7 separate regions of the Homo sapiens genome follow, and regions 1, 3, 4, 5, 6 and 7 are each linked to region 2. The links are contacts of gene promoters, found by promoter capture Hi-C in blood cells and fetal thymus (Javierre and others, 2016). All regions are on one chromosome and are shown on one strand. The core of a region is centred on a gene start or on the middle of the fragment in contact, and the rest is flanking DNA. Distances in the headings are between cores, read along the strand shown.

The links. The method cuts DNA at HindIII sites, captures the fragments that hold promoters and counts their contacts. A CHiCAGO score of 5 or more calls a contact.
Region 1: a contact is called between a fragment that was not itself captured here and the fragment with the promoter of PLSCR5 in region 2, in 1 of 17 cell types (monocytes). The highest score is 6.1, in monocytes.
Region 3: a contact is called between a fragment that was not itself captured here and the fragment with the promoter of PLSCR5 in region 2, in 9 of 17 cell types (naive CD4 T cells, monocytes, neutrophils and 6 more). The highest score is 7.5, in naive CD4 T cells.
Region 4: a contact is called between a fragment that was not itself captured here and the fragment with the promoter of PLSCR5 in region 2, in 6 of 17 cell types (monocytes, total CD4 T cells, activated CD4 T cells and 3 more). The highest score is 8.3, in monocytes.
Region 5: a contact is called between a fragment that was not itself captured here and the fragment with the promoter of PLSCR5 in region 2, in 2 of 17 cell types (naive B cells and M2 macrophages). The highest score is 6.4, in naive B cells.
Region 6: a contact is called between a fragment that was not itself captured here and the fragment with the promoter of PLSCR5 in region 2, in 4 of 17 cell types (monocytes, naive CD8 T cells, total CD4 T cells and 1 more). The highest score is 8.2, in monocytes.
Region 7: a contact is called between a fragment that was not itself captured here and the fragment with the promoter of PLSCR5 in region 2, in 12 of 17 cell types (monocytes, total B cells, naive CD4 T cells and 9 more). The highest score is 9.0, in monocytes.

The regions. Positions count from the first base shown.
Region 1 is chr3:146,122,095-146,125,872 of GRCh38, reverse strand. PLOD2 (procollagen-lysine,2-oxoglutarate 5-dioxygenase 2) reads left to right here. Exons shown (of 20, transcript NM_182943.3): 2 at 1,644-1,735. Among named protein-coding and RNA genes, the nearest start is that of PLOD2, 37 kb to the left of the region's middle. The HindIII fragment of the contact is 4,362 bases long and covers 1-3,778 here.
Region 2 is chr3:146,603,515-146,607,042 of GRCh38, reverse strand. It overlaps PLSCR5 (phospholipid scramblase family member 5), which reads left to right and starts at 1,697. Exons shown (of 8, transcript NM_001085420.2): 1 at 1,697-1,843. The coding sequence starts at 1,831. The HindIII fragment of the contact is 8,012 bases long and covers 1-3,528 here.
Region 3 is chr3:146,261,364-146,265,083 of GRCh38, reverse strand. No RefSeq gene overlaps it. Among named protein-coding and RNA genes, the nearest start is that of PLSCR4, 12 kb to the right of the region's middle. The HindIII fragment of the contact is 3,837 bases long and covers 1-3,720 here.
Region 4 is chr3:146,139,923-146,143,185 of GRCh38, reverse strand. The region is part of intron 1 of PLOD2 (procollagen-lysine,2-oxoglutarate 5-dioxygenase 2); the gene reads left to right. Among named protein-coding and RNA genes, the nearest start is that of PLOD2, 20 kb to the left of the region's middle. The HindIII fragment of the contact is 3,166 bases long and covers 417-3,263 here.
Region 5 is chr3:146,101,758-146,105,541 of GRCh38, reverse strand. PLOD2 (procollagen-lysine,2-oxoglutarate 5-dioxygenase 2) reads left to right here. Exons shown (of 20, transcript NM_182943.3): 6 at 1,200-1,263; 7 at 2,690-2,787. Among named protein-coding and RNA genes, the nearest start is that of LNCSRLR, 34 kb to the right of the region's middle. The HindIII fragment of the contact is 1,719 bases long and covers 1,478-3,196 here.
Region 6 is chr3:146,180,119-146,183,608 of GRCh38, reverse strand. The region is part of intron 1 of LOC105374145 (a long non-coding RNA gene); the gene reads left to right. Among named protein-coding and RNA genes, the nearest start is that of PLOD2, 21 kb to the right of the region's middle. The HindIII fragment of the contact is 3,290 bases long and covers 1-2,940 here.
Region 7 is chr3:146,241,266-146,244,924 of GRCh38, reverse strand. The region is part of intron 1 of PLSCR4 (phospholipid scramblase 4); the gene reads left to right. Among named protein-coding and RNA genes, the nearest start is that of PLSCR4, 8.0 kb to the left of the region's middle. The HindIII fragment of the contact is 2,371 bases long and covers 104-2,474 here.

The DNA.
Region 1 (3,778 bases), core at 672-3,171, 480 kb after region 2:
TGTGGTATTCCCTATTTTGAAATTTACTCTGAATAATGTTAAATTTTCATAATCAGTTAAGCTCTGTTTGAAACTTTATAAATGAAAACTTTTTTAAATAGTTAATTTTAAAAAGTATTCTTAAAATACATTTACTAGGGCCTCATCACCTAGGCTGGAGTGCAGCCGTGTGATCTTGGCTCACTACCATCTCCGCCCCCCGAGTTCAAGCGATTCTCCTATCTCAGCCTCTTAAGTAGCTGGGATTACAAGTGTGTGCCACCATACCCGACTAATTTTTGTATTTTCAGTAGAGATGAGGTTTCACCATGTTGACCAGGCTGGTCTCAAACTGCTGCTCTCAAGTGATATGCTCACCTCGGCCTCCCAAAGTGCTGAGATTACAGGCATGACCTACCGTGCCTGGCCAAGAAATACCTTTTTCTTAGAAAAAAATCTAAGAATGTTGATGTTTATCTTCATGGAAATTATTTTTTTTGGTTGACTATTGAATGTTTGAATTTAGTATTTCTTTGTATATTGTACTTACTTATATTTTATTGTAGTTACTTTCAAAATTTGACAGATAGATACATTGGTTCATCTGCTATAATTTTTAACTGATTCCTATAATGCATTATTGCCATGTTTGGTGATTGTTGCTTAGGGGATACTCAAAACCTGAATTCTTTTCTTATAAATAGAGGGCAAGTGAGAAACAAATGATGTTACTCAGAGAATATTGAAAAGATGTTAGTTTTGCTTTCTTAGTGTGTAGGTCCTTCTAAATCTTCAGTTAAAAAAAAATGTTCCAGCCCTTTTGGCATTTGTTGATGCACTTGTTTCTTTTGTGCATTTTTCCAACATGCCTTTTCCTATTAAAAATAATCATTATCTGTAGTAGCTTATGTAGGTGTTTTGAGACAATTCCTTAAATCTATCTAATTTTACTAAAAAGAAGTGTTATGTTGGATTGAAAGTAATATTTCATTATAAAATGGTAGCTAATAGTTGTATATTTACTAGGGCAGTGGTTATTTTGATTCCATTTATTCTTTAAAGAGAAACCAAAACACAATAAATAATGTTGTCGCTTGTAAGAATTTTCATGAAAAAGCAATCCCGGATAGGAGAAAAAAATTAAGATTTTGTTTTAAATATTTGCTCCCAGTTGTCACAATTTATTTTAGAAAATTAGAATCAGATTTAATGATTGTATCTGTTTTTTTTGTGTATGTCATTATTTTGATGAATGTAATTTGCTGATCTCCTCACTGGTGATGTCATAAATCAGGAATGATTTATCGATGATGTTGAAGTTTGTTGATTAGATAATGTCAGAGAATCTTAATCATGGATTATAAAGTTCATTTTATGGAAGTTTTTCTCAATATTGAAATACTTTATTGATGGCATGATTTTTCTTAATCATCAATATACTTTTTTGCGTTGAAATAATTGTCATTTGAAGGTTCATCATTTGGCAGTAATACAACCAATTTGAGTCATCTATTTTTTCGACAGCTCTTTGTTTAGTCTTGTGTAGATAAGTAAACCAGAATATTCCCACGGGTTTAGTGAGGTCTCAATTACTGTAGTGAGTTGTAAAATGTGAGCATTTGATATCTTGGTAAACCTTCTTTTGTTTCCTTTTGTCTTTGCAGATAAATTATTAGTCATAACTGTAGCAACAAAAGAAAGTGATGGATTCCATCGATTTATGCAGTCAGCCAAATATTTCAATTATACTGTGAAGGTATGGTATATCCTTTAACCTATGAAGATCCTATAATGTGTGCCTAAAGTATGTTTTTCATAACAGCAGTACAATCTGTAATCCTCACAAGGAAGATAGCATTTGGTTACATAATTACTGTTAGTTCATGTAGTTTTTGGCTTTATTAATATTTCCTAACACAAAGAAATGGTGGTAAATGCTTGAGGTGAGGGGATAGCCAAAGTATTCTGATTTGATCATTACACATTATATGCCTGTATCAAAATATCACATGTACCCCATAAATATGCAACTATTATGCACCTGTAATAATTAAGATAAAATAATGCTGTGCCACTCAAACAATAATTTCTGAATTTTTGCCAATGCTTTGTATAAATATACTCTATAAAACAGCAAAAAAAAGTTAATATGTATTTGCATATATATATATAATTTCTTTCTGGCAGGTCATGTACAAATACAATGTAAATAAGATTTGGCAGGGATTTTTTTCACTGACTGCATAATTTTTTCTGTAATGGGTTTTGCTATCGTAGGATGATTCTTTGTTTGCAGGGAATTAGAAACAAATGTGAAGAGGGTGCCTTTTCTGTCTATTATTGAGAATTGCTTTTGTTTTTGCTTTTTTTGTTTGTTTGTTTGTTTTCATTTAGAGGTATTTGGGAGGATTGTTAATGTATTTTTAACCAAAGCATTTTAGAAAACTTATCTCCAGGTGAACATCTCATTGACAAGTGATCAGAGGAAACTTGGGGAAATTGATAGAACTATTAAACTCAGCTATGAGAGGCCTGCCATTTTATTTACTTACTTGTTTTTTTTAATAGAAAGAAGGATCTGTCAGCCAAGTCTTTTCTACAAATAAGAGGAGAACAAGGAGATACCTAGGTAGGAACACAAAAAGCAAAAAACTTTTTTTTTAAAAAAGAAGAAAGATTACTTTTTGGAGAAAAACTGATCCATTTGAGTATGTAGTATATTAAAAAGGTAGTTTTTATTAAATAACCACTGGAATACTAAGTATAGATGTAAATATAGAACAGCTAAGTGTTAATATAGAACAGCTAATAAACAGCTAAACTTTGCTGAAAAAGAGATGTAGTGGTAACAACTAGATGTTTAATATAGGATAAATGAAAAACATGTTAGAAATATGTTACTATGATAGATGGAAAATGTAGCAGTATGCACTGATAGGAGACACTGTGGAAATAAAATTAGGATAAAATAATGCTGAAATCTAGTTGGGGAATCGTTAGGGTTCAGAATGGAGAGAGAGTAGAATGTTTCTTATGTGCAAGGCACCTTGTAAGGAACTTTATATATGATATGCTGTTAAGTCACTATATGAACCATGTAAGGTAGATACTACTTTATTTCTGGATGAGGAAAACTTGTCCCAAGGCAAATAACTATATAAAGTATAATATCAGATCTTGGACCCCATCCCCACTTAACTTACTGGAGTTTATGATCCTTTTGCTCTCTCCTCATGTAATGCAGTGGTTCCCAAAGTGTGGACCCCAGACCACCAACATCTGCATTGCCTGGCTACTGATAAGAAAGAAAAAATAATCAGGCTCCCCCTCAGACCGACTGAATTACAAATCCTGGGAGTGATACCCTGAAGTCTGTGTTTGAACAAGGCTTCCATGAGATTCAGATGCACACTGAAATTTGACAACCACTAGTGTAGTGGAAAGAACATAGAGGGTGGTGCTTAACATGGTGTATTGCACAGAGTAGACTCTCAGATGTCGTTGGGTCCAATGTTGCATTAGGATTAGGGATTCCAGATGGGTTGTGGAACAAATCTCAGGGCCAGAGGAGGCCAATTTTTAGAGCAAGTACTATTAATGCTTCTAGATTAGCCTAGTTTGAATCCAGATCCAAAACAGCTTGAGTTTTCTTGGGTTGTGTTTTTCCCTCAACCTGCCACATAGGAAGTGATAAGTTATAACAGGACATTTGAGGCTGGGAGCCCCACAGGCTTTGCCAGCAAGATTTATCTCCGGCTCAGTATTAAGTAAAGTTAGAACTAGTGGTATTTATTATTAA
Region 2 (3,528 bases), core at 448-2,947:
GTTTTTTTCTTGTAAATTTGTTTGAGTTCTTTGTAGATTCTGGACATTAGCCCTTTGTCAGATGAGTAGATTGCAAAAATTTTCTCCCATCCTGTAGGTTGCCTGTTCACTCTGATGGTAGTTCCTTTTGCTGAGCAAAGACACATGCACACGTATGTTTATTGCGCACTACTCACAATACAAAGACTTGGAACCAACCCAAATGTCCAACAATGATAGACTGGATTAAGAAAATGTGGCACATATGCACCATGGAATACTATGCAGCCATAAAAAATGATGAGTACATGTCCTTTGTAGGGATATGGATGAAGCTGGAAACCATCATTCTCAGCAAACTATCGCAAGGACCGAAAACCAAACATCGCATGTTCTCACTCACAGGTGGGAATTGAACAGTGAGAACACATGGACACAGGAAGGGGAACATCACACACCGGGGCCTGTTGTGGGGTGGGGGGAGAGGGGAGGGATAGCATTAGGAGATGTACCTAATGTAAATGATGAGTTAATGGGTGCAGCACACCAACATGGCAGATGTATACATATGTAACAAACCTGCACGTTGTGCACATGTACCGTAGAACTTAGAGTATAATAAAAAAAATTTTTTTAATCTTCTTTGATAGTGTTAATAACTTAATTTTTTGTATTAAAGTTTTTCTAAATGCTCACGACAAACATTAGAAAAAACTTAGGAAACATACAGTTTAATTTAAAAATATTAATCATATTCACACATCTTTTCTGCAAAACGACAACTTAAATAATGGTAGCTTTTTTCAACTCCAAACACTAAGAAAACTACAACAACAAAACCACTCCTCTTTGTCAAATAAGGAAAACTCAAACTTTTGGCAGTCTGCAAACTGTGAGGTTGACTTTATAATTTTTCATCACAAGGTATACCTCCTGAAGCCTCTTAACTATTTTCAGAAAAAGACAGTGTTGCTGATAATGCAATATATCCTGCATGTTCAACCTTTGTGAATCATACCATGTAGGGCAATTGACTTGGTGAGCAAAATCTCCATGGTCACCTGGGTAGCTGCATTTAGAAATAGGAGCTGTCCAGTCAAGGTTACAGCACTTGTTTTCTTTCCTTAGAATTCAATGCAGTTAAATATCATCTGTAAATTTTGATTAGCTTTGCAAGGCTATTGAAGGTTTGTATATTCCAATGCCTCTGATTAATCAAATTCAATTAAAAATGAAAATAAAGATTTATTTATATAATAGTAGGGAATATATCCTCTTCTTATTTATTTTGAGTTGAAGAGATGGAGATAAATCCAATAGAAAAATAACAATAATAATGTTCAAACATTTTCAACATGTAAAGAATTGTATTTAGAACTATCAAAAATTTATACAATAGGATGTTTTATCACAGAATCTGGAAAGGAGACTTCTAGAAATTGAGAAATACAGGATATTTCTGATATAAGACTGAATGCAAATGTGTATATTCTAAGAAATACAAAAACAACTTGGTAAAAAAAAAAAAGACACTTAAAATGAGTGCTGTGTGCTTTCCTTTCTGGTTTTTATTATTTTTAAATTGTTCCTTCAGCCACCAAAGTTATATGATGGTTTCTGAACAGCGTTTACTTTTGTGACAGTTTCATCTCACTCTGTTGTCCAAACTGATAAAGTCCAGAAGTCTAGAAACAGCAAGGGACTCCCTTCCTCTGTTATATGTAAGCTGACAAGAGGCAGACAAACACGTTCTGAAGTTTTGTGCATGCTGCGTTTTCTCTCCTTGCTGCAACAAGAAAAGCCTTTGTTTTCCAACCTGGCAACCTTTGAAGAAGTGACTCAGACATCTTCATGGCCTCTAAAGGTAAGAGTAAATATAACCAACTAATAACTTTTTCTTATATTAAGACTAAAAATATACAATTGTGGATGTGTTACAACCAGTTAGATTGGTACTTTAAAAGCTGTCATTTGTCACTTTTGAACATTGTGATTTTAAAATCTTAACTCCCAGGAGCATGTTGAGTTACATGTAAAAACACTTTATCTGACAGACTGTAAAAGTTCAGATGTAAACGATGTTTTAGTTATCATGAATACAAACATAGTGAATTAATAAGAAAAGCTGCATAGCAAAGTTTAGAATGGGAATCTTCAATGTTAAACACAAGGACAGGGTGATATTTTAAGTTTAAAAGGATTTGAAGAAAACTTTTCACACATAAGTTAGAAAGTGTTAAAGTGCAATTTAATAATTTTTTTAATTAAAATATTAAAAATTTATGTGGGTACATAGTAGGTATATATACTTATGGGATACATGAGATGTCTTCATACAAGCAGGCAATGTGAATTAAGGACATAAAGGGGAATGGGATATCCATCCCATCAAGCATTCAGCCTTTGAGTTACAGACAATCCAGTTACACTCTCTAAGTTTTATTTTCCCATTTGTTATTCAAATTATGTGATATAGCCATTTATTATAAAGAATCTGACATGCGTTATTATTGATTCTTAAATGTGATGGGCTAGAAATAAGTATTTCTGAATTATAAAGCAAAAATATCTTGAAATTTCCTTATGGTAAATTAAAGATAGAAAACAAACAGAAAATATCTGCTTTAAGCGCACAGATCACTTAGCAGACTTTTGGGGAGTAGGACTGATGAGTTTTTTCTCAAATTCCTAAAACTGCAAAAATATCATTACGTTATCTTACTTTAAAGAAGGTCTAAAAAGACAAGAGATGTAGTTGTTTTTAAAGTAAGTTGCAATCTCACTAAAAACACTTGTGAAACTGTGTAAGAAATAAAATTATAATGTGCTTTCATTTCATTGTCAGAATGAACCACTAAAGCCTAGGCTATAATGAAAAGTTTTAGCATGAAGAATTATAATTAGTATAATTGGTGAAAACCTTTTAAATTAATTACAAATAGGATAATAGGGCTCATCAATTTGTAATATCCTAAATTAGTGATCCATTCAAACAAATGTGTATGCTTACTTGCTTCCTTTATCAAAACACACTTTTGGTCACTATTTAATATGAAACAAATGAGATAATCTTTCCATTTTTTATCAATCTTTAATGTAGACCAGTCCCTCAGTCCCTCAGAATCACTGAGAAAGCTCACACAAATTGTAAAACATAGATGTGAAATAGCAAAATCATGAATTTAACATATGTGTCATTTTTTTCTATCTGAAGACAAATAAACAAAAAACCTTGACAAATATTTCCTTTCATTTAAGACTGACACTACTATTTAGTCCAAAATACTTCATCACTTTATAAAATAAGAGTTACAGCAATACTGTAGACTGTAAGGTAAAAAGTTGCAGAGTGTATAAAATATTTATAAGCTAGTTATACATTTTTAAAAGAGTAGATAGAAATTCAAAGCCAGTACGAAATTCAAAGGAGTTCCTTCTTCATCTGGTTGTCTGAGTCTTTGAAGAAACTTGTGACTGGAAAGTAATATTATGTCAAAATATGATTAATCTAACAGGAAGCAGTGATGTTCCATAATGATAAAGACCCAA
Region 3 (3,720 bases), core at 584-3,083, 340 kb after region 2:
TTCGGAAGTAAAGACTGCTACTCTCATGGAACTCAGTCTTATCTCTTTTGATCATCAAAAAGATTCTTTGAAGCATTACAGTTGGCATTATTATGCCAACAGTAGATAAGAATGAAGATTCAATGGCTTGTCTTGGTTCAAACAGAAACTTGAATCTCTGTATTCCTTTTTTGCTTGTTTGTTTTTAAACTTGTAATAACTGTAATTTTAAAAAATATTATCAAGACAGTACATAAAATTTAAGAAATAAATTTAAGAAAAAATTTAGGTAGTACCATTCACTTACTGTTCTTTTTAGTTCGAATACTTTATATAGTTGAAATTAATGTAACCTGGTTGCTTATTTCATAGCAAACTCTACACAAACAAGAGGTCCCATTTTAGCTATGGCTGCTCCTCCTTACTTCTTTACTTGGATTCATTCCTTAATTCTGCAAATAATTTAGGGCTAGTTATGTCTCAGGCACTATGCTTGGCTTTTCTCGAACTTCTTCCAAGTTAATGAAAAAAATCAGTACAGACTTTCTGGTGCACAATTTGTTATTCTTTCCATTAAACCTGCTGCCCTTGTTTTTATCTTTTGATGCATCTGACAGATGAAGTCCATTCTAACTGAGCTGAGTAGCATGAGCAATTTTGGATCTACTTTTATTAAACTGTTGTGTTTCTGCTTTTGTGGCATTGTTTTACTTCTCATGCATTAGAATATCTCAATTCTTTCTATTAATATACATTTCTTATCTCAGCTCCACTGTAAAATCATATTTTATTCCCTCCAAAGTCTTTCTCACAAAGTCCAATTAATACATCCATGCACTAACTTAAGTCTCATCAATGAGACTTGCTTTCCTAAAATTGTGTTCTATAATTACATTTCTATGTAAACATAGCCCTGTAGACACTTAACAACTATATACAGCTGGAAAAACTTAAACATTCTTCAGGCTACCCTGTCTCACTCTGACCCTCCATTCCTTGCCCTTCCTCTTTCCTTCTCTACCCAAAGTGTAGCAAGATTAAGGTATTACTGAGAAATGACAGGTAACAGTAATTACAACTCTTTTTTAGTTTTCCTTTCACAGGTCAAGGATTTCTTTGTTTCTAGTTATAAAGTATTTTTTCAATTTCTGCATCCTAATAGGTAGGTGAAAAAGTATTAATATGGAAGAGATAAGATACTGGGACTGCTAATGAGTGTGAATAGCATCCTGTGATAGGTAGGCAGTAATTACATCATTAAGGTCATGAGGAGAATGTCTGTCACCTGTACCCACCCCAGAGTTTCTTTTACACATGGCTTCACAGATATAAGACAGAGACCACAGGCTTCTGAGTCAGTTTATGTTATTCCTTTTGCGTTTTACAGATGCAAGTAAATAACATGTTTTTGGGGTTGTTTTGTGCTTTCAAATGGATGCTTTATTTCACTATTTGTTCCTTATTTTTATTCCCAAGGAATCCAAACAGATAGCTCAGGGTAGATAAGTACTTTAAAAATATCTGTTGAATGAAATAACATAATGCTGTTTTTATGTGTGTTTCAACCCCCTCATCATGTTAAGCTCCAAAGCTAGAATTTACTAGCTTTCCAAATTATGAAAACTGGCTGATATTCTTCTCTGTATAAATTTAGTTTCAAACCTTATTCAAATTTGTTAGGTTTCTAGTTCTAGATTGTTCCTCCTTGCAAAACACCCTGTGGATGCAGCTGAAATTATTTGCATCTCTTATAATTGTATCATGGCCTTATTATGTGTAATAATAACATTTCAGAAAATATCTAGTTGAAATATATATTGAATATAAATCATTATATATCCAGACCCAGTTTAAATTTAAATATACAGGCCACAATTACAAAAGTAATTTGCAGAGAGTAATATCACTTTGGGAATTCCTATGCCAGCAATTAGTTTTATGGGTAAATACAACAGAATTAGGAAGGGCTAGGCAAGGAGTTGCATGGAGAAACATATAAAAGGAGTTGAAATAAAAATAAAATGAATTCATGAACTACATATTATTCTCATGCCACTCTCTCTCCTGCTCCGGCACCACCTATTTTTGTTTTGTTTTGTATTGTTTTGTTCTGTCAGCATACAATATTCCTCCCTCAGGATCTCTATGCTAGTTGTTCTCTATTTCTGGAATACTAGTAAACACCATATGTTTGCCTAGTTGTTTTTTTCTAATCATTTGGCATGAATGTTACTTTCTCCAGTGACCAAGATGCCTTTCCTGAATACTATTTGTAATGTAGTCCCACCTCACCATCTTCCATATCACCTTGCTTTATTACTTCCAAACTACTTTTCATGCTCTAAAATTATTTTGCAATCCACTTCGTTGTTTATTGGCTCTGATCTGACAAGAATGTAAGTTCTAGGAGGGCAGAAACCCTGTCTTATTTTCTACTGAATCTCCAGCACCTAGTATAGAACCAGCTCAAAGTACTCAGTAAATCAGAATGGAGAGGTCATGGAAGGATTCCCAAAGTGGGTGATATTTAAAATGAGTCTGGGAGAATGAATGGAATGTAGCCAGATGGAGAAATGAGGATAAAGCAGTGGCAAAATATTTATGAAGTCATAAACCTCACAGTGTCATGAACCAACATAATACAATGGTGAATTTATATAGATACAGATACAGATATATGTATATAGATAGATAGATATAGTATCTAGCATATCACTAGAACATGGAAAACAGGGAAGTGCTACATGGTGAAGCAAAAAAAAAAAATTAAGCAAATGCAAGAAAATTAGGGCTGTATGTTCTACAATACATATTAAGAGTTTTCTTGAAAACTGTAGGCTTTAAAATGAAAAATCTTCCCTGAAAAATGAAAGACTTTAACCTGGAAGTGACATTATCAGCTTTGTATTTCAGAAGTCTTGAGCAATTTTGTAGAAAAAATAGACTCTTTTCATTACATGTTTAAGACTTTAGTAAATTTTTTAACATTCATTATTTTAAATCACTGACACATACTTGAATAACTCACATTCCTAAATATATACATAAAATGTCAGTAGATCTGATTCAGCCAAAATTCTTTAAATCAGCAAATAATTCACTTTGCATATAGACACTATACAAAAAGAATTTGTTATTTATCGACATTTAAGGACAATGGCAAACTTGTGTGTCTTTAATCACAACTTAAACATTCACACTATTGAATTAAATGCCCTGATGTTATAATAATTATGCAGATTGTGACATACGAGGCTGCCGTGTACAAAATTTGAATTTAAAATACTCTTTTCATCGATATATAGTTAAATTACTTGCCTGACTTCAAGAAATATTTCCTTTTTCTCATTTTTGCTTTTGGGAATGCCAGCCTCAAAAATTTTCTAGTTCCTCAAATTTTTGTTGAACTGCATTAACCATTTTAGGATTTTGTAAAAATATATAAATACGTAATGATCACATGGCCTAGCCATTAGTAAAGTATAAATACTCTAAATTTAAAATAGTTTTAGACATTTCACAGATATATTTGTATTAATCTGTCTGAAGTATACCTAAGATAAAATATTGTTAAATTAAAAAGTAAGATTTAAATATATCTCTATGAATAGACAGAAAAGTTGGTTAATATGCTTTGTGAAAGGAAAAAAGAGATACCCTATAATTAAATTTCAAGGAACAGAGCACGCTTTTGAAAAAGATTGTTTTACTGTCTCTTTCTACATTGAATTGAATATCATA
Region 4 (3,263 bases), core at 750-3,249, 460 kb after region 2:
AATGTTTATTCAGCAGAATGCTAGTGGTGGAAAACAGGACCCTAAAAATATTTTTACAAGGGCGGTCGGAGTGTTTAACTCTAGGAAGTAGGCCAAAATAGCTGCTGTGATGCACTGAGCAGTGAGTTTGGGAAAAAGCATTCTGCAAAATGTCAGCCGATAGCATTGAAAAATAGCAGAGCTGCTTGAAGCAGATTTTTCAGTTTACAGAAATTGTGTTATAACCAAAGCATGGAAGATGGGAACAAATGGCAGGGGAAATCTGGCTACATGACTGTAAGATCAGTGCTGCTGCAGAGAGTCCCTGAGTCAGCTTTGGTTTGTACCAAGGCATCAAGTGTATTTGGTTTGACAAGAGATTGGAATGTGCTGACAATGCCCCTTTCTTATAATCTTAGGCAGTATATTACAAAGCTTTATTTTGAATGTAGCTTTTATCGTTTGTTATTTATTGTACTTAAATTATGTTTAAAGGCAAGCACTGGGATATTTGTGTGCTTAAACTTTGTTTAAGGGCAAGAACTGGAGATTTGTGTGCCTGGAACAGACCCTACTCTGCCTCCACTTTCCATTTAGGTCAGTGGGCAATTAATCTTGTAATATGAAAGGTTTCAGGTTTGTAGTGTTTTTATTGACCAACCTTTACATGAAAGTACATCTACCATGTAGCTGGAAAAAGATCCCTGATAACTTTTCTATGTACCACCCTTAGTTTTTGGAAATAGGTAAAGGAAGAAAAAGTGACAGACTGAGAATGAATAGGCAGAGAGATGGAAAAAACAGTAGAGAGAAGCACCAGGAGGGGTAGATTCATACAGCTGGATGGTGAATTTTGCACTGATTTGTTTTGCTAACTTAAAACTTGTTGGATTACATAAATTTCTATTAAAAAAGAAAACACTGCATTCGTATTAATTTAGGCATTATTTTTCTTGATGACAAAAATCTGAATAAAAAAACTAGTTCCTTTTAATAAAGGACATTAAATATCAGTAGATAATAGCTTTACTTGTAGTTTATTTAGAGATACTTTCAAGGGATAAATACTTTTCTCATCTTTTTGAAAGTTATAATTTGGCAATTGTTTTCTGACAGGAACATTTGGTTACATACAGTAGATGTATGGTTAGATACAGTAAATGATGTTTTTGCCAATTTTCTAACTCTCTGGGAACAGAAGTGGAGAATGTTGAATCCCATTCCCCTGTTACACACATTTCTTCACCTGGTGAACTCATTTGTCCTCAGTTTTAGGGCGAATTCCTCACAATTTTTTTCATAAACTTCCAATTTAAAATAACTTTCTCTGTTAAAACCTTTCATCCTCTTCGTGTTGTTGAACTTATTCTTAGTTTTACTGCAGTTTCCATTTTAAATTGTTTGTGGAATTATTTGCCACTGTCTCCCCTCACAACTGTATTGTAAGACCCATGAAGACAGGGATTGATTTTTCCAAAAATGTTTATTGAGTGACTTCCTTCCAAAAATATTTATTGAGTGCCTACTGTGTATCAACTAGGATTTGGGGATCTATTAGGTTTACATTCTCTTCAATTCCAGCATTTACTTCGTTTACCATTATGTCTCCAACATGTAGCACAGTGCCTGATAAACAGTGAATGTCAGTATCTGTTGAAAGAATAAAGATGAAAGCCCTTTGAGGAGTATTTGCAGGGCTCAAATGTGGTGTGGAGTCAGGGGTTAAATCTGTAGTTGAGGAACATGAACTTCTCCTGAGGTTGGGGATTTCTTTCCCCATCTCAATCTGAAATTTCCAACTGTCCCTGTTCTAACTTTTCTTTCAATAAAAACGAGAACTTCCTTAGTGTTAGATCCATTTTGTAAACTGCGTCTGGGGAATGTATGCAGTTTAAGTAAACTGCAAGATAAATCACAGAAGAGTTAATGCAGTAGTGATCATTTTATTAGCGGTCCACATTAATAGAATACAGCAATTTAAATTGTAATGTAGTTAACTTTGTCCTTTTTTGGGGTTGTAATTAATCTAAACATCCAGCTATTTATGTTACTTATAATTAAAGGTAGGAAAGCCATTAGATAACTCATTTGTTCATACTGTGTATTCAATTATCTGATTTATTATTTATCTAGTTTATGTACTGAGAGTACATAATAAAACTTAATAAAACCTCATAATAAAACTTATTAGGGGGCAGTAAATGAAGAAACATGTTGTGTTCTTGACAGAGCAGGTACATGGACACTCAGACATTAAAATGGAGACCAGGAAATTAAAGATCAGAAGCAGCATGTGGAAAACATTCTGTCTGGGGCCACTTATTATAGGAATAAACAGCTCTGTAGATTTAGATGTTCTGGGGAAGTACCCTATCATTGGAAAATATGGTAAGTGATCATGAGTCCTCAAGAAGAGGTTATATTTGTTTGGTATTCTTTGCTTAATTATCACATTTGACAGAATGATTTGCATTATTAACATTATTAATAGAAAGTGTTTAGAGAAAGTTGAAAGGCACCATGGTTTAATTGACTGGAATGCTTTATGACTAAAAATGCAGAGAGTAGTTTGTGAATTTTCAGGAACTGATCCTATTCTTTATTAAAGCGTATTGTGTATTTCTGAAAAAGCACACATAGTATAGTTTAATTCAGACTCTCTGAGCTGTATATACTTCTAATTATATACTAGTTTATGAAATTACTGAGTTCCTTCTACTTTGAGAAATTCTGGAATTAAGAATGAGTGAGGATTGTTGGGGAGAGGTCGTTGAAGCTGACAAAACACTGAATGCTTACCCTCGTTTCTAGGTCACAGTGAAATCAGACTTCACTGGGGAGCAGTTTTCTGATGAGGAATGTCATGAATCCTTTCAGAAATGGGAATGTCTCTGTGTTTGTCTCTGTAATGTAGAGGCATCTTGAGAGGCTGGACTTTTGATGAATTGTCATAAGAACTGACCCCATATAGCATTGGCTCAGCTTTCTAACAAGGGATTCTTATTTCCTGCTACATAAATTCCCCAAATGAAACATTGACTCTTTCAGACATAACCTGACCCAGTGCACTGGGTCATACTGGAGTATCCTGACCCTGTATGGATTTATACTGCTGAGAAAATTTAAATTGCGTTCAAAAGAGAGCTATTTTATGAACATCTACCTTAAATATGCATCTTGCTTATGACTAATTAATGCCTTGCTATGTTTTTGTGGAGCAGTCTTGAAGAACCAGGTGGCGAACCATTCATTTCTAATGTGTTGTAGCTAGGAATTAGTTGAAT
Region 5 (3,784 bases), core at 1,088-3,587, 500 kb after region 2:
GGACAGAGACCTTCCTCTGAGATTTGGAGCCTGGAGATTATGGGTGTTGAGAAAACATTGAAGCCAAAAGCCCTGGTCATTGTTCAAGTGTTTGGTGGCCCAGAGTGGATAGAGCCTGTAAGGATGGGTGTGATCCTTTTTAGGAGACTTTATAGCCAATTTGTGGATTTCAAATATTTGAGAATTTGGAGCCTGAAGATTCAAAGAGATGATAATGAAATCCCTAAGAGGTTAGAGCCTGAGGATCCACGGGACTGTGCTATAGACACAGGCTTTTGTCTTTTATTCATAAGAACACTTAAACTGTAATAAATAAAGCAACTCAAAATAGCAGTGGTCTAAATAAGAAATATGTTTTATTTAAGTTTTTTCCTTCTGTCACATTGAAAGTAATTAAGAAGTAGGGAGCACAAGGCTGTTAGGGAGGCTTTATGCTGTCAAGAGGGATAGCTCTTTTGTTGCTCCACCATTGGTCCATAGCTCCCAGTTTTAATCTTACTTCCTTGTCCAAAATTGCTACTTGAGTTTCAGTCGTTGCATTCGTATTCTGGGCAGCTAAGAGAGGCACGGTAGTAAAAACAGGCCATCTCAGTTTCATCACTCTCTTTAAGTTGCCTTTCTAGAAGTCTTACCAAATAGTTTCTCATACTTTGATCAGAACGTATGTATGTGCCCACTCATAATACCCAAAGGAAAATCTGTTTTTTTATTTTAAGCAGATATATGCTCCTGAAATCTGAGTTCCCTTATTGGGGAGTTGAGGGAATGTTGGGTACAATAAGCAGTCTTCCATAGACCCTAGAGAGAATATTCCTGAAATTGATGTGAGTGAAACTCTGGAGTACAGTAAAGCAAGATTTTCTAATTTGAGAATACTTTTATCATATTTACCAATATAAGTTGATATTTAATAAATTTACTGTATATATTGGATACAGATATAAAAGTTACTTGTGTGTTTGTAGTTGCTGTCATTAGGAAACAAGATTTTCTTTAAGTGTATTTTGCAATGAGTTGCAACTATCGCAGTTTCTACCTTTTAGCTAAATACTTTAGTCATCTAAATATTTTGATTAGACACTTAAGATATAAGAATATTAAACTTTAAATTCCCTCAAAGAACAAACTATATTAATATGATAGGAATGTTTGCTGTTTTTGTTGTCATTTTCAATATCATTTCTATTCTTATGTTTTAGGAAGCTATTAACATCACATTGGATCACAAATGCAAAATTTTCCAGACCTTAAATGGAGCTGTAGGTATGCTTCCTAAATACCGGATTGCTTACGTATACAAACAAACACCTGTGTTTTCAACTATCTTTCCTTTGTTATGTCCATTTGGGGGCTGTGACTAAGGTCGACAGTGTAAATATTGTAATTATTGTAACTTAACAAAAATACTAGACTTGAACTTAACATCAGTACATTAAATTAAAATCATTTCCTATGACTAGTGTGAAAAAGATAAGCTTCTGGCTTTAGGTAACTTAAAATTTAGTGTCTCACCATTTGGGAATTTTAGATAAGTTTATAAATTAATTACACTTTATTATTACACATTTTCTAGTGAAATTCTTTGTATTACGAATTACCCAGAGTATTAGAGTAGATCCTTTTGACCCAGCTGAAAGATAACTGGTGACAACTAGACAGTAGACTGGGGAAGAGTGTGTGTGTGTGTGTGTGTGTGTGTGTGTGTGTGTGTGTGTACATGCTCGTGTGGATATGCATATGTGCCTGTGTATTATAGATACATATATCTTGATAAAATACATTAAAACTAATCAATACAGTAAAATTTAAAATATAATTTATTAACACATAAATACTTTTAAATATACATATAAAAATTGAGAATATATTGCAATTCAATCAATACTTCAAGTCAGTCCATTTAGTAAAAAGATTCTTAAAATCTAGTCAGGCATGGTGGTGCGTGCCTATAGTCCCAGCTATATGAGAGGCTGAGGATTGATTGATCCCAGGAGTTCGAGGCTGCAATGACCTGTGATTGTGTCCTTGCACTCCAGCCGGGGCCAGAAAGTGAGACCCAGTCTCTAAAAAAAAAAAAAAAATTCCCACAATGCAAAATGTTTAGTTTGGAGTGCTCAGGAAATTTTAAGACGATGGCTCTGCTCCTCTCTGACTTGAGTTTTATCTTGCTTAATGTGCTAAGTCTGATTTTTAAGAACTGGAAATATTATCATTGGTAGCCAATTGTAGAACCCTTGCTTATGCCAGACAATATTCTACTCACCATGCATATATTGTTATTATCTTCATAATAACCCTAAAAGACAGACGTGGATACCATTTGATAGATGACTAAACTGAGTTACTAATTTAACTTGGCAAGAATAACAATACTATGAAGGGGCAAAGGCAGGATTGCAAGATGAATTATTCTGACAGACAGCTCACTGGCTTAGCACCTCAATCACTTTACTGGTGCCAGGTTGGAGTGAGTTTGGTATCTGTATCTGTTGTCACTGTCATCCTTCATTTTGGGTATCTGCTGGCTTGGAGTAGATGAAGTTACTAGAAGTGTTGTAGCACTTGGAATATTACATCCATGAGAAATTTTGTAATGATGATACACACACATACACACACAGACACACGAATACAGACACACACACACGTATTTTAAATTACTAAAGCCTATTTTCTCTTTTTAACCCAGATGAAGTTGTTTTAAAATTTGAAAATGGCAAAGCCAGAGCTAAGAATACATTTTATGAAACATTACCAGTGGCAATTAATGGAAATGGACCCACCAAGGTAAGTAACAGTTACTTTTATTTGGCCAATTCTTGGAGATAGACTATGGATTGATATGTGGAATGTCATCTATTTTATTTTTAAAAATTTCTTTCAAAGACTTTATTTTGGTGCTAAAATAAAGACTTCATCTTTTACACAGTATATCATCTGGTTTTATACTAATTAATTAATCAAACTGATTTTTCCTCAGCAGAGTGATAGCCTTTTATTCTATTTACAGCACATTTGGCGTTTTATTAAATAATAACAACTAACTTGGGAGTGAGCCACATTTCTCTCATACTGGGTATCCTTTCTCATTAGGAATTGCTCAGGACATTAAGAGATCATTTGTTTCACCTGACTTGCCGTTTTCTAAGTTAACAACACTGTTAAGATTGGGGTATTACAATATGGCCAGAAAGCTTCCTCTTTCTCTTATTTCATTAACTACAGTTAATGAAAGTGACATAATTTGACCAATAAAATTTTGGATGCCTTTCTGTTTCAAATGTGTATAATTGAGCTTGCTAAAAATGTTATTGACTGCAAAATTTATAGATGAAAAGTTTGTTTTGCTTGGGTCCAATCAAGCTGGAACATAAATTGCATTGAAAAAATATAGTAATACTGTGCTTACAACAACCTTCTGACATGCTGAAATGCCTGGTTTAAGTACCTAGAAAAGGGATTAACAGATTTTTGTTGTGGGAAGAAAATACTGGGGGATGTGGGCTTCTGTTCCAGAGGAGTGAGTGATCTGAATTCCAGGAAAAGCTATGTGAATGGAAAGAAATGCAAGGAAAACGCATGCTGGCAACTTCTGCTCCATCAAACTGAAAGAAGTAGATTCCCGTCTCTTCTAGTTAATCTTTCCCCTTTGGTTTTCATCCCATTCCAGCCTTCCTACAAAGCAATCTCTATCTTGTGCCCTCCTTCAGTCTCTATCTTATAATCAGTTTCCCCAGCTCTGTCATCTCCTCATTAGCATTTTAAAGACCAGTAAGTCTCCTCC
Region 6 (3,490 bases), core at 46-2,545, 420 kb after region 2:
GATCAGATGGTCGTAGATACGTGGCATTATTTCTGAGGGCTCTGTTCTGTTCCATTGATCTATATCTCTGTTTTGGTACCAGTACCATGCGGTTTTGGTTACTGTAGCCTTGTAGTATAGTTTGAAGTCAGGTAGCGTGATGCCTCCGGCTTTGTTCTTTTGGCTTAGGATTGACTTGGTGATGCGGGCTCTGTTTTGGTTCCATATGAACTTTAAAGTCGTTTTTTCCAATTCTTTGAAGAAAGTCATTGGTAGCTTGATGGGGATGGCATTGAATCTACAAATTACCTTGGGCAGTATGGCCATTTTCACGATGTTGATTCTTCCTACCCATGAGCATGGAATGTTCTTCCATTTGTTTGTATCCTCTTTTATTTCCTTGAGCAGTGGTTTGTAGTTCTCTTTGAAGAGGTCCTTCACATCCCTTGTAAGTTGGATTCCTAGGTAAGAGCTTCTGCACAGCAAAAGAAACTACCATCAGAGTGAACAGGCAACCTACAAAATGGGAGAAAATGTTCGCAACCTACTCATCTGACAAAGGGCTAATATCCAGAATCTGCAATGAACTCAAACAAATTTACAAGAAAAAAAACAAACAACCCCATCAAAAAGTGGGCAAAGGATATGAACAGACACTTCTCAAAAGAAGACATTTATGCAGCCAAAAGACACAGGAAAAAATGCTCATCATCACTGGCCATCAGAGAAATGCAAATCAAAAGCACAATGAGATACCATCTCACAGCAGTTAGAATGGCGATGATTAAAAAGTCAGGAAACAATAGGTGCTGGAGAGGATGTGGAGAAATAGGAACACTTTTACACTGTTGGTGGGACTGTAAACTAGTTCAACCATTGTGGAAGTCAGTGTGGCGATTCCTCAGGGATCCAGAACTAGAAATACCATTTGACCCAGCCATCCCATTACTGGGTATATACCCAAAGGACTATAAATCATGCTGCTATAAAGACACATGCACAGGTATGTTTATTGCGGCACTATTCACAATAGCAAAGACTTAGAACCAACCCAAATGTCCAACGATAGACTGCATTAAGAAAATGTGGCACATATATACCATGGAATACTATGCAGCCATAAAAAAGATGACTTCATGTCCTTTGTAGGGACATGGATGAAACTGGAAATCATCATTCTCAGCAAACTATCGCAAGGACAAAAAACCAAACACCACATGTTCTCAGTCATAGGTGGGAATTGAATAATGAGAACACATGGACACAGGAAGGGGAACATCACACTCTGGGGACTGTTGTGGGGTCGGGGGAGGGGGGAGGGATAGCATTAGGAGATATGCCTAATGCTAAATGATGAGTTAATGGGTGCAGCACACCAACATGGCACATGTATACATATGTAACAAACCTGCACATTGTGCACATGTACCCTTAAACTTAAAGTATAATAATAATAAAATAAAATAAATTTATCTCCTAACTGCTGTTTTCAGTGCCATTTTCAAATATAAACCACAGAGTCTCTTTCCATAATGGTCTAGAGAGAGAAGGAAGGACTATTATCTCTAACAACTGTTACACTTCATTTTCTGGAATTCTCTATCAACCACACAAACTGTGATGATAGATAACAAATATACAATAAGAGCACGTCAAACACTTAAGTTATAAGTGTCTAATACTCATCTTGGGGTAGGAAATAATATATAAAGTTTGGGATGTGTTCTACAGAAACATTGTGATGTATTAAACTGTACTAAATTTTGTGGGGCCCAGACATTGGCTTGAGTGTAGCAGCCAGCCTTACTAATAACCTTAGGCAGGACACGAAGCTCTGTGCTCTTCCACTTTTGCATCTGTAAATTAAAGCCATAATGCCTGAATTGTTTTGATAACAGTGTGATTGTGAGAACTAAAATGAGATAATGTATGTGGATAAGGCTGGCCCTTGGAAACATTAGCATTTTTACTAAGTAAAAGCAAAGAAGGAAGTGTAGGAACTGGTCTAGTTTTGCTCTATACAAGGTAACTTAGGCTCTTGGATAGGCTTTTATGAGCTATCAAGGCAAATGGACCCAGAAATATCCTCAAGGGATAAAAGAAATGTTTGGTTAGCAGGCCACATGTAAGCAATGATTTTTTTTTTTTTTAAGTAAAAAGAAAAAATGAAAAATGCCAGGCCACAAGATTAGCCCTCTTAGAGGCTCCTGGCATCGTAACTGGGGATCATGGATATGTTAAATAATCATGTTCGCTTCCCTTGATTAGATGGAAGCATTAAGTCATCTGAAACTAAAACTGAGTCACAGACAAACTTACGGGAAGAAACCCAAAGTCTGAGTGGTAAACGAAATGGTGAAAAAAATGTGTATGGATTCTATGTTTCCGTATGTCCATGTTAGCAAGACTTCCCCTAGTGAATCATGACCCATTTCTGTTTTTAGAGTTCAGGTGACTGCCTTACCTTGGGCCCCTCTGTTTGAATGTGATCATTTGGACAAACTCTAGACTCTATATGCCATTAAAGTTTTCATGAGGAATTTTTTAAAAAATCAAACATCATATTTAACCCTCCAAGAAAGAAAAGAAAAGCAATGTGAGTAGCCAAGTTATCTAGCTACAGATAACTCATTTGTTTGGGTTTTAAACACACTGAATTGTTTGCAAACCTATCTGCCCTCATGTGTGTGTGTAACAAAATATTCTTTGTCAGGACTTTAGTTGTGGTGAGAGCCTGGTGAGCATAATTTCCTAAGGTCTCTTTTGTTAACACAGTTTTGGAACTCATCTTTTAGAAATGACCCCCTATTCTGCAAACTACAAAACAGAATTCGTGTCATAAACTCTATGCTTCAGTTGAAACACTCACCATATTCACTCACTTATGTTAAACCCATCTTTACCAAATTAAATTACTCCATTCTGAAAACCACCAGTGGCTTTCCATTTACTCACAAAGCTTTGTTTCCCAGAAGGGTCCTAGATCATTCTTACGTCTTCAGGTAGCTTACCCCTTTTCTTCATGTCACCACCTCAGGAAGACATGCCCAGACCCATCCAGTCCCTCACGTCATTCTCTCTTCTTGGCAGGTAACACCATCAGAAATATTACTTGTTCTACTTTTAGTTCTATAAGGAATTGCCAAACTGTTTTCCGCAGTGGCTGTACTAGTTTACATTCCCACCAGCAGTAACGTGTTCCCTGTTCGCCGTCTCCACACCAATATCTACTGTTTTTTATTTTTTGATTATGGCCATTCTTGCAAGAGTAAGGTGGTATCACATTGTGGTTTGATTTGCATTTCCCTGATCATTAGTGATGTTGAGCATTTTTTCATATGTTTGTTGACCATTTGTATATCTTATTTTCAGAATTGTCTATTTATGTCCTTAGCCAACTTTTTGATGGGATTGTTTCTTTCTTTCTTACTGATTTGTTTGATTCAGCAATCCCACTATTGGGTATCTACCCAGAAGAAAATAAGTCATTATTCAAAAAAGATACTTGCAC
Region 7 (3,659 bases), core at 40-2,539, 360 kb after region 2:
CCTTTTTAGAAAGTTTTCAATTTACGTTGCCTAGATTCATCAGAGGAATCTAGGCCTAGCTTTTGGCCTGTCTTTGCTTTCAGCATGCCTTCCTCATTAAGCTTAATCTTTTCCAGCTTTTTGACTTAAAGTGAGAGATGCACGAACCTTCTTTTCACTTGAATATTTAGAGGCATTTGTAGGCTTATTAATTGGCCTAATTTCAATATTGTTTTGTCTCAGGGAATAGGGAGGTCCTAGAATAAGGGGAGAGATGGGAGAATAGTTGCTCTGTGGAGCAGTCACAACAACACTTACTAAGTTCACCATCTTATATAGGCATGGTTCATGGGGTCCCAAAACAATTATAATAGTAACATCAAAGATCACTGATCATAGATCACCATAACAGATTGTTATGAAAAAGTCTGAAATATTGTGAGAATTACCAAAATTTGACAAAGAGACAAACTGAGAAGTTGCTGTTCTGCAAAATGGCACTGATAGACTCCTTGATACAAGGATGCCACAAACCCTCAATTTGTTTAAAAAAATGGAGTATCTGTGAATCACAGTATAGCAAAGCACAGTAAAACAAGGCATGCATGTACATAATGAGGTATCTTGAGAATGGGACCCAAGTAAACATGAAATTCATGTTCCATTATGTTTTAAACATATAGCCTGAAGATAATTTTATACAATATTTTTGATAATGTTGTGTATGAAACGTTTACGTACGTTGAACCATCAGAAAGCAAAGGTATCAGTATCTCAATCACCCATGTGGACAATCTGTGGTTATTTGACGTCACCATCATTCCTGACTCTAAATTCATTATGCTACTGATAAGTAATCATTTTCTTACATTACTCACAAATAAGTGCTTAACAGTAAAAAATAGGATGTATCATTAGTACAGTGAAAAGAGAATGCGTTCAGGGTAACTAAGCAGCACAGTAGTATCTCCAGAATGCCTGTGTCGGAAAGCCACCAATAAGCAATGGCAGGCTTTCATTCTTTACCTACAATGCTGTATTTTGATTACAAGGTTATCATTCACTGAATTTTATTATTTTAAGTGAGAAGAAATATCAGAAGTAGCCAAGTGACCAGCAAGTGTTTTCTCTACAAATGAGGAAGCATTCTGATGGATGACTTTTCAGAATGTTTCCTCTGGAGTCCGCTGTCTCATTAACAATGGTTTTTGTCTTAGAAGTCTCTGTTGATTTTACAGACTGACACAATTTCTTATTCTGTGATGAATGAATGCTCTTAGAGTCCTTCAGTAAACCCATCACATATTTTCACCATGTCATCTATAGGCACTTTGCAGTTTTAACAGTGTCCTCATCATCTTTCACTTGTGACATCATGTTGGTGCTGAAAGTTTTGGATTTTTGAGCATTTCAGATTTTGGACTTTTGGATTAGGGTTGCTTAGTCTATACAGCATTTTATGTGCCCGAACTCTGCATGAATATTATAATCTTTTCTTAAAGTTAGAGATTGGTTCATCCTTTTTGTTCATTTCTTTGTTTTCAAGAATAAATGACAACACAGTTTTTGTTTTGCTTTCTATTTTTTTGTTTTTCAAGAGTTTTGGAGCATAGTCAGGATCATGATGATAAGAAAGAGATGTATATATGTAACAAACCTGCATGTTGTGCACATGTACCCTAAAACTTAAAGTATAATAAAAAAAAAGATGTATACAGTTGGTAGAGCATATTGTTAGCAGGAGTTTGAGAAGAGGGGTTTCAGTCAATTGAGAGATCCCCATGGAAGAAGCAGGATGAAATACAGATAACAGAACTAATTCTTACAAATTTTTTTTCTGAAAATGGTCCAAGTGTCAATTAGGAACTTTCCAGGTTTGATTTGAAACCCCCACCACAGAATTTGTTTTTCCTCCCTGAGAGATTGATGGGTTACTGTTTTGGGATTAAAGCCTTTGGGGGCTTTCTCTGGTGGAGAAATAGTTCAGACAAAAGGTAGTGGATCCATTAGATGGCTAATATAAAAGTGGACAATGTATTTTCCAGTTGCATGAGTGTTTACCATAAAGGCAGACATCTTGGGGCATAGGGTTCTTTATTTTGGGATCCTCTTGGGCCCTGTAGCCTTTACAACTGTAAAGACATAAACCTGTTTGCCTTTCGTAAGGAATTTTCCCACTGTAGCCATTCTAAGTTACTTTTGCTAAGGTTCTCCCATTCGTCTCGAAAAGCACAGGTTCTGGGTCTCTGGTTTTTATACATGAAGTTGGCTAGAATTCCAGAGGGCGAAGCTCTAGCAACCTTTGACCAGATAAACCCATGATTCTATGTCTTTTATTAACCTTTCCTACCTACTAACTGAGTTGAGTTTATGTCTGACCCAGTCAAATACCTGAGGCCTCCCTACTGGGCCCAGTCCTGTTGTTGGCATGACTTTGAAACCCAGTGTAGATCAAAAATGCTCAAACTCAGCTCAAATCAGAAGTTCATGAAGCTTAGATTCAAAAATCTCACCCATGACCCCAGTTGCTGCGAAAGAGCAGTGAGTACACTGGGCATGCTGGGTACCTTAACTTGGTCACTCAGTGCTCCTGGGATCACTGGAAGTTTGCTTCAAGATCTGACTTCTCATGTGAAACTCTTAAAAGAAAAACTTTAGGCAAATTCAGCAGAGTTTATCTGAGCGAAAAACGATTCATGAATCAGGCAGCCCTCAGAACCAGAAGAGTTTCAGAGAGCTCCACCGAGCAACATGGGCAGGCAGTATTCATAAACAGAGGAAAGAAGTGACGTACATAAATCAGTTGATTGGATCCAGCCTGGTATTTGCTTTATTTGGTCATGGTGTGATGAGGCATTTGCCTTCAACGGACATGGTCTGATCAGTTGACAGCCCGTGATTGGCTGAAGCTCCACTACCATCATTGGCTGAGACTCAGCTACTTGTTACAAGAATACAACCTCAAATCAAGTTGCAGTCTGCTATTTACAGAGGCAGCTTTAGGCCCAATTTAATTTATCAGGTTATGATTTAGATTACGTAGAAATGTGTTGTTTTATTTTTATGTGGTTAGAGAATTTCCTGTTATCTTGCGGTTAGTAATTCCTAGCTCATTACATTATGGTCGGAGAACAAGCTGTATTATTTTAATTTTTTTGTAATATTTTAAGATTTGTTTTATGAGCCAGAATGTGGTCTGTCTGGGTGAATGTTCCGTACGTTGAAAATAATGGTTATTCTAATGCTGTTGGGTGGGTGTCCTACAAATGTCAGTGTTGGTTGATGATGCTGTCTAGTTGTGCCAATATCATTGCTGATTTTTCCTCTGCTTGTTCTTGTAGATTACTAAGAATGGAGTGTAAAAGTCCTCAACTGTAACTGTGGATTTCTCTTTATTTTTTTCAATTTTGCCAGTTTTTCCTTCATGTATTTTGAAGCTCCATTGTTAGGATCAGTCATGCTTAGGATTGCTGTATCTTGTTAAGAAATTGTCTCTTACTTTTAAGTGATAGCCCTTCTTATCTCTGGTAATTTTCTTTGCTCTGAAATCTACTTGTGAGATATTAGTATAACCACTCCAGCTTTCTTTTTCTCTGTAATGACTTTGTTGAGACATAATTCACATACCATAAAATTCACCCATTCAAAGTGTACAGTTGAGTGATTTTTAGTATATTCAG